Regions from separate parts of the Homo sapiens genome. Here all the other regions are linked to region 1. Evidence: promoter capture Hi-C in human tissues and cell types (Jung and others, 2019). All regions are on one chromosome and are shown on one strand. The core of a region is centred on a gene start or on the middle of the fragment in contact, and the rest is flanking DNA. Distances in the headings are between cores, read along the strand shown.

What was found. The method cuts DNA at HindIII sites, captures the fragments that hold promoters and counts their contacts. A contact is called where the count stands out against the background at its distance.
Region 2: a contact is called between a fragment that was not itself captured here and the fragment with the promoter of AKAP13 in region 1, in 2 of the 25 tissues and cell types used here (aorta and spleen).
Region 3: a contact is called between a fragment that was not itself captured here and the fragment with the promoter of AKAP13 in region 1, in 3 of the 25 tissues and cell types used here (IMR-90 fibroblasts, lymphoblastoid cells and mesenchymal stem cells).

Annotation. Positions count from the first base shown.
Region 1 is chr15:85,379,291-85,381,893 of GRCh38, reverse strand. It overlaps AKAP13 (A-kinase anchoring protein 13), which reads right to left and starts at 1,291. Exons shown (of 37, transcript NM_007200.5): 1 at 1,096-1,291. MIR7706 (microRNA 7706) reads right to left here and starts at 1,298; the gene lies at 1,232-1,298. RefSeq lists silencers at 587-754, 411-980, 1,361-1,440. The HindIII fragment of the contact is 20,871 bases long and covers 1-2,603 here.
Region 2 is chr15:85,497,446-85,500,048 of GRCh38, reverse strand. The region is part of intron 2 of AKAP13 (A-kinase anchoring protein 13); the gene reads right to left. Among named protein-coding and RNA genes, the nearest start is that of AKAP13, 120 kb to the right of the region's middle. The HindIII fragment of the contact is 3,827 bases long and covers 1-2,603 here.
Region 3 is chr15:85,281,496-85,284,098 of GRCh38, reverse strand. No RefSeq gene overlaps it. Among named protein-coding and RNA genes, the nearest start is that of MIR7706, 98 kb to the left of the region's middle. The HindIII fragment of the contact is 6,470 bases long and covers 1-2,603 here.

The sequences.
Region 1 (2,603 bases), core at 42-2,541:
TCCAACAGTTCAGAAAAACTGAAGAAAATGCTTCTTCTAAAAATAAAACACTTGTTGTGGGGGGGACTACTAACAAAAAAAAAGGCACACTGGTTTTTACTGTACTGAAGCAATAAACTCTCCAAATAACTTCATTAAGGAGTGTCATTAGCAAAGAATGAACACCAAAATACCGCTCAATCCAATTTTCATTGTGAATTCCGGGATCTAGAAAATTAAATGGGACGGTATCACTCTGCTATAAGAACTATTTCCAAAACAAAACAAACCTATCTACCCCCTTTCTTGATTTTTTTTTAAAAAGTTTTAGGGTTTTTCCTTTTTTCAACTTCACATACTTCGTGGCTTTGCAAAAAAAAAAAAAAAAAAAAAGCAGTAAACCGTATTTACCAAAAAAAAAAAAAAAAGTTTTGTTTGGTATCAAAGTATAGCTGCAAGCTGAGCCGGCTGGCTGCACGGGTCCCAGAGCGCGTGGGGACCGCACGGGTCTCCTGGGCCGCTCGCCTGCGACCCGCGCGGGTCAGCTGGGCCGCACCCCCGAGAAGCCGCGGAGAGGCACCGACAGGCAGGCGCGGCCCGACGTGTTTACCGTCCGCGTCGACCCCGGGGAGCCGCTCCCTCGCGCCCGCAGCACTTGTTCACGGCGCGGACTCCACGGCGGGGACTCCACACCGCGGCCGCCCGCCCCAGGGGAGGAGTGAGCCCGCCCCGGCGGCGCCGACCCGGGGACCCGGGGCAAGGATTCGGGGCCTCGCTGGGGGCGGAGCGCCTGAGGTAGCATCGGCGGCCGGGCGCGCCCCCCACCCGGAAAGCGGCGACGGCCTCTAAGTTGGGCTGCGGAGTGGGAGGCGCGCCGAGCCCCAAGCAGACAATGCGGGAGAAGGGCGATGCGCAGGGAGGAGGGGTCCGCAGACCTGAGGTCCCGGCGCCGCCCGGCGACCCGTCTGTCCAGCCCGCCCCCGAAACCCCCGCAGCCCCCGCCCCTCCTCCGGGGCCCGCCCCACCGAGCAACCGCAGGGGACTGGCCGCGCTCCGCGCCCCGACCCACAAATCACAAAACTTCCCCCAACTCCGCCAACTAAGTTGCGCTCTCACCGTGCGGCTCCCGGGGCTCCCCCGCGGGCCGAGCTGGGACAACTCTTCACCTTCGCCGCGGAGAAAGACAATAGGCGGCCGCTCCCCCGGAGGCGGCTAAAGCGGCGGCGACCGAGGCGAGCAATGGGCACGGCAGTCTCGGCAGAGCACAGGCGCTTCACCGCGGCTGCTCGGGCTCCGCGCTGGCCCTGCACACAGCTCCAGTCCGCGCATGCGCCGAAAGACGCTCGGGAGGGTGGGCGGGGCACGCGGGAAGGCGGTAACGCCTGCGAGTCCTCCCGTGAGTACACGCGGAGCAAGAACTGCGAGCTGGGATTGCACGGCAGAACTGCCCATCTCGCTGCATGAGACCAATAGTAAGGCTCCTGGACGGGGCACTCAGGTTGCTAAGGGAGGCTGAGGTTGACCGCCGCTGCTGCTCGGCGGCAAAGTGATCAAAGTAGGGTGGCTGGCAGAGGCTGCTCTGGGAAATGCCCACCCACGGTCTCCTCTCCGCCCTGTCTCCAGAAACCGCCCTTCCTCTGTGTACTGGTGGTTACCTGAGCTGCAGCACTTAACCACACATCGTGAAATGATTTACTCCTCTATTTCCCCCACTTCAACTCAGGAAGTGGGGTTTAGTCTTCTGTGTCCACAGCCTAGGACCGTCTAAGGTATTAGGTATTAAATATAGGTATTAAACAAGTGTTGGATGGATGCACGGCGCTATGGCGGAATCACAATTGTGACAGTGCATTCCGTGAACTTCTGGCTACTCGATCACCACAAAGTCATTCCGTGTTCGAGCTGCAAAGGACCTCAAAAATCATCTGGTTGCTTTGGGAAACAAAATGTGGTCCGTGTACCAATGGTGCCGGTAACCACCGGCCCACAGAGGAAGGGCGGTTTCTGGAGACAGGGCGGAGAATATATTAGTTGGTACACGAAGAAACTTCTTTTTTCAAATAGTTAAGTGTTTTTAGTGCGCATTAGGAGGGAAATGCCTATCACGTCAAACCACTGTTTCATTAATGTTATTTCTTAGGTCAAATAAAAAGTGGCAAAAAACGAAAGCACTTCAAGAAAAGTGTTAAGTAAAAAACTGAGACAATTTATATGCAGTTGAAGAACGTGTAAAACTAGTTGATAGTGATTGAAGTAAGAACAGCGGTTAGGTAGGAGGAGAAGATTATTGGCTGGGAAGGAGGAGGAGGGAACCCTCTGGGGTGCTGGTTCTGTATTTTGACCTGGGTGATAGATAACAAAAGTATATACATGAATAAAAAATACATCCAGTGCACTTTAGTGCACTTTGCACATTTTAAACATGTATTTTTAATGTCAGTTTTCAAAAATCTGGTACAGGATATTACCCCCCCGCCCCCAAAAGAAAAGCAAAGATGCAAATGACTGCCATTTGGGAAACACTGATCCAGGCGGCTCACTAGCAGTGACCAAACACCTGAGAAAGGGTATTGTGAATACCTGATGTGTGTGCCAGGAACTTCCATTGTTGAATAGCTCCAAAT
Region 2 (2,603 bases), core at 42-2,541, 120 kb before region 1:
AGACATTTATAATCATCCATGTATGAGGCAACACCCTTTCCCAAAGAACAGCTTTAATTCTACTTGGAAACAATAAAAAACACTAGCATTATGATGCACAAAGTACTGTGATAGAAGCTGAAGTAAAAATGAGAGCAATAAAATAATAATTCAAATACAAAGCCCCTACCCTCAAGGAACATAATAAACGGAAAAGGCATGCATACAAATGTGCATCTGAAGTGCTCAAGCTCTTATTACAAAGTCTGCACAGAGTAGCCGGGGCATAGGAGTAGGAGTGATGGATCCACAGGAGGATGAAAGCTCAGGAGGGGCTCCACAGAGACAAGTGGCAGGAAATGAATCCTGAAAGATAAGTGTTTTTCTTTATGCATGTGTTAGGGATTGGCAGGGCTCGGGGGTGCAGTTCAGAGAGAGGAAGAGATGCCGTTAACAGTTTCACATGGCTGAAGGCTAGCTTACATAGAGTTGGAATTGGTTTACCTGAAGTACCAATGACTCAGCACGGGATCCATGGCTAGGGATTTTTAAACTCCAAATGCTGACATCAGAATACTGCTTTCATTTATGCTGTCCAAAAATCAGTCTCAGCAGCCCGTCTACAACCTCATTTCAAAACCTACTGCTCTTACCAATTCCATCTGCATCATAATCTGCGCTGCTGCTACTACTGCAAAGCATATGGGGCTTTAATTATCTACAATCATACAAGGAATAATTCGTGAAAAATTCTAAGTGACATAAAAATATCATGAAAAAAATGTGAAGTGCTAATTCCCTTAATTATCCACTGAAAATCACTGCTATCTCTTACAAAGAGATACCCAACCCTGTATTTGATAGTACACACCTTGATATTATTCTGAGTCAATAACGCAGTGATAATTTACTCAGGAAGCTAGCCTTTAAAAAAGAAAAGCCATAGATCTGTCCTTCTGAAATAATATCTTACTTAATATATACACTTTCCCATGCATCTTTACAGGCAACCACTGCTGATGGGTTACACAGTCAGCCGTGTTGAAAAATGTAAATGTACCCATACAGTTCCAATTTAATTCATAGGAGGCTTTTCAAAACTATCCTCTTTGTTCATTTGGTTTATATGCTTAAACTTTGGAGTGCATCAGAATCATGTGAAGGGCTTATTTTAAAGTGACTTTTTGGGCCCCACCCTCTGGCATTTAGGTCTGAGATGGGGCGTAAACACCTGCATTTCTACCAAGTTCCTAGTGGTGCTCATGCCTGTGGCTGCTGGTTGCGGACCTCACACCAAGAGCCAGCGCCCTAGAGAAGTCCAGATGGCAGTCATTCCAGGTCACCCCACATACCAATTACCACTGAGAGTAAGCAAGTTTTATAGGATGTATGTCTTACATTTGAAAAAGAGATGGTAAATAGAGTTCAGTGCCAAAGACAACCTCTAAATGTAGATGTGATGTAAGCATCAAGCTTCAATAGTATCAACCTGGGGAGCTGATAGTGAAACCATCCTCACGTGCAGAGATGAAATGGGAAGAGCAAAAGTTTTTAGTTTGAATTACCGCTTCACCTCTTCCTAGCTATGTTCGTTCATCTATAAAATGGATCTCACATGGGTGAGGAGATAAAGTAAGTTACCTTACAAGGAAGGTGTTCAGTAAAAGGTAGTTGCTACCTAAGCTAACAAGGGAAAGAGCTCTCAGCGCAAGTATTTATGCAGAAGATGCAAGACGAAGCCACACAATGTAACTTTACATGCACTATGTCAAAATAACGGGGGTACGTCTCTTTTTAAAACCACCTATATCTAAAGTTTTATCTATGATCTCGCTCAATGTGATATATATATATATATATATATATATATCTCACTTCATTTAATCCTTACTACCACACATTGTTGTAAAAAACATGACTGTTCTCCCTCAGGCTTCCAAGGCAGCTCCTCCTCCAAACTGTTTGCTCATTGATGCTACACCATTCTCCCTCTGTCCCTCACACTAAAACCCTCAGTGGCCATTCTGTGGCTCCTTGAGGTTTTCAGTCATTCTACCAGACAAAATCCATATGTTCTTCCTGCGGAACAGCTTCATCATCCCCAGATCTCATTCTGTGTGCTGTAACGGTGAAGTGATAGGCCTACCTACTTGACAGCCCCTCACTGCTCTCCTTCTACTCTTTATTTTGGGTATGACTTTCATCATGCTACTATTTGCCTGGTCAAAAGATCTCCAGTTGCTCTTCACACTGTTATCCTGTGTAAAACCCCATACTTCCTTTATCAGTGCTGACCAACAGAATTTTCTGCAATGATGGAAATATTTTCTATCTGCAATCAGTATGGTAGCCACTAGCTATGTGTAGCAACTGAGCACTATTTGATGAAGTGAATTTTTAATTTTATTTCACTTTAATTAAACAGTCACATGTGGCTAATGACTACATTACTAAACAGAGCAGCTATATATAATCTCATCTCCAGGTATCCTTCAATGTGAACTGCCCACCCTGGTCAAGCAAAGTCTCTCCCCACAACTGATAACACTCTTCCATGCCTTACTCCAAAGACTGTGCTTCCTCCTCTCACTCTGCTCTTCCCAGTCTCCACAGCCTATCTATCC
Region 3 (2,603 bases), core at 74-2,573, 98 kb after region 1:
GAACCTTCAGCAGCTGGTCCCCGCCTGAAGAGAGAGCTGCTGTTCCAGTTCACAGCACACCTGGCTGTGACAGGAGAACAGAGGAGCCCTGGCAGGAGCATGAGTCAGACCGAGAGGGGGCGAAAGCCTTTTGGTGAAGGTCCCAGAAGGCAGAAGTCTTTTCATAGGGCTCGGGTCAGAGGTGATCCACCCAAGAGGATGTCTGGCAGGTGGCAGCTTCCTTTCTACACTCTTGCCCCATTCATCCTCTCTTTGGCCCTCATCTCTTCCAAGAGAAGGATTCCTTCCTCCTGTTTTGCAAAGTGACTGATTTTCATTTATGCCAATCTAGTTGACAGACCCGGGTCGACGCAGGGCTAAGGTAAGTGTCTGACTTCACAAGCCCCTGTGGCAGCAGCTCTTCTGATGGTTATAAAGAGCCGCTCAGGAGATGTTGGGCCTCCCGACATGGTCTTTTTTGGGAAAGAACTTATCTGCTGGGTGTGCATCTTAGAGGCCTGCTGTAATTTTGGCTTCAGAAAGGGTGTCATCTGGGGCTTGGCCTGAGTCCATGTTGCTCTTGGTCTCCTTCGGTGAGACATCTCCCCCTCCCACTCCTCCTTACCCTCTTGCTAGTTTCACAGATGTACCAACACATCCATTTTTAATCTGACCAAATCAATTACAAATGTTACAGATTGTAATTACCGAAGGAACTCCTGAAAACTAATTATCTAATACGCAATCCCCACAATAAATTACACCTTTCCTTTGGCTTGATGTTCCAGCAAACTGTTTTCTGCTCATGCCTGTAATCCCAACACTTTGGGAGGCAGAGGTGGGCGGATCACCTGAGGTCGGGAGTTCGAGATCAGCCTGACCAACATAGAGAAACCCTGTCTCTACTAAAAATACAAATTAGCCGGGCATGGTGGCACATGCCTGTAATCCCAGCTACACAAGAGGCTGAGGCAGGAGAATCGCTTGAACCCAGGAGGCAGAGGTTGCGGTGAGCTGAGATCACACCATTGCACTCCAACCTGGGCAACAAGAGCGAAACTCCGTCTAAAATCAAAACACAAAACAAAAAAAAACTGTTTTCTGAGGAGGCAGAGAAAGAGTATTGCTCATCCCTGCCAGGGACGCTCACGAAGCGGCTATTTAGCTCTGCTGCATGTTTGTGGGTGTTTGTCAGAGGTGGCCACAGGCTCCGTGCCAGGGCTCTGGGCAGCAGCCACATCATCTTTTGCCACTATAGGGGATGTTGCCAGAATACCCATTGGCCCGTGTCTTGTCGTTCCACCACCAAGAGAAACTTCAGTGTCCTTGGGCAAAACCTGGGAGGCCAGGTAATGGAAAGCAAATAGCAGATGCAGGAGATGTTTAAAAAGGGAAGAGAAGCAACGTGTTAACCTTGGCCTGAGACTAGTGGAGTCCTGTTAAGTGATGGATCACTAGAGCGTTCCTCAGCAACAGTGCCTGTCAGAGAAGAAACCCAGAGCAGACATTTACATTCTTCTTTTCTTGCTTTTTGTTCACTATCAACAGACAATGGAATATCAGAGTTTGCTGAATCTCAGCTTTAGGTACCAATAAAAGCTTTCCTTGACCTAAATGCATTTGAAAAGCACAGTATAAAATTATGTCAGTGATAAAGTAAGAAATTCACTCATTTACAGGACTCATAGCCTCAGAGTTGCAGACCCTTCGCCGGAAGCTGCCATTCATGTGAAATGCTATTCATAACTGTTAATAAAATCATCAGGATAAAAGAGGAAACAGGGAGCAAAGTTGTAAACATCCCAGGCATGCAGCAAGGATGGAGAAGTTTAGCTACAATTGTTTATGTCAGGGGGGCCAAGGAAGGCTGACAGGAAAAAACATTCTTTGAGTTTGTATTAGTCAGGGTTCTCTAGAGGGACAGAATTAATGGAATATATATACACACACACACATATATATACGTATATACATACGTATATATACGTATGTATATATGTATACACACATATATATAGGGGAGTTTCTTAAGTATTAACTCACATGATCACAAGGTCGCGGAATAGGCTGTCTAGGCTGAGGAGCAAGGGGAGCCAGTCCGAGTTCCAAAACTGAAAAACTTGGAGTCCGATGTTTGAGGGCAGGAGGCATCCAGCATGGGAGAAAGATGTAGGCTGAGAGGCTAGGCCCATCTAACCTTTTCATGTTTTTCTGCCTGCTTTATATTCACTGGCAGCTGATTAGATTGTGGCCGTCCAGATTAAGGGTGGATCTGCCTTCCCAGCCCACTGACTCAGATGTTAATCTCCTTTGGCAACACCCTCACAAACACACCCACGATCCACGATCAATACTTTCCATCCTTCAATCCAATCAAGTTGACACTCAGTATTAACTCTCAGAGTCTCAATAGTAGTAAGAAGGTTCCCAGTGAGAAGGAGTGAGCTTGGGGGTGGTCCTGTGTGCCTAGGTATGCACAGGGTTGGTACGTGTATGTGGCAGTGATTGTGTGTGCATACACACGTGCACATGCATTTGTGTGTGTGCAGATATGAATTGTGTGCATGTGTGCATGTGTGTGGATGTGAGTGGGTGTGGATGTGAGTGTGTACATGTGTGCATAT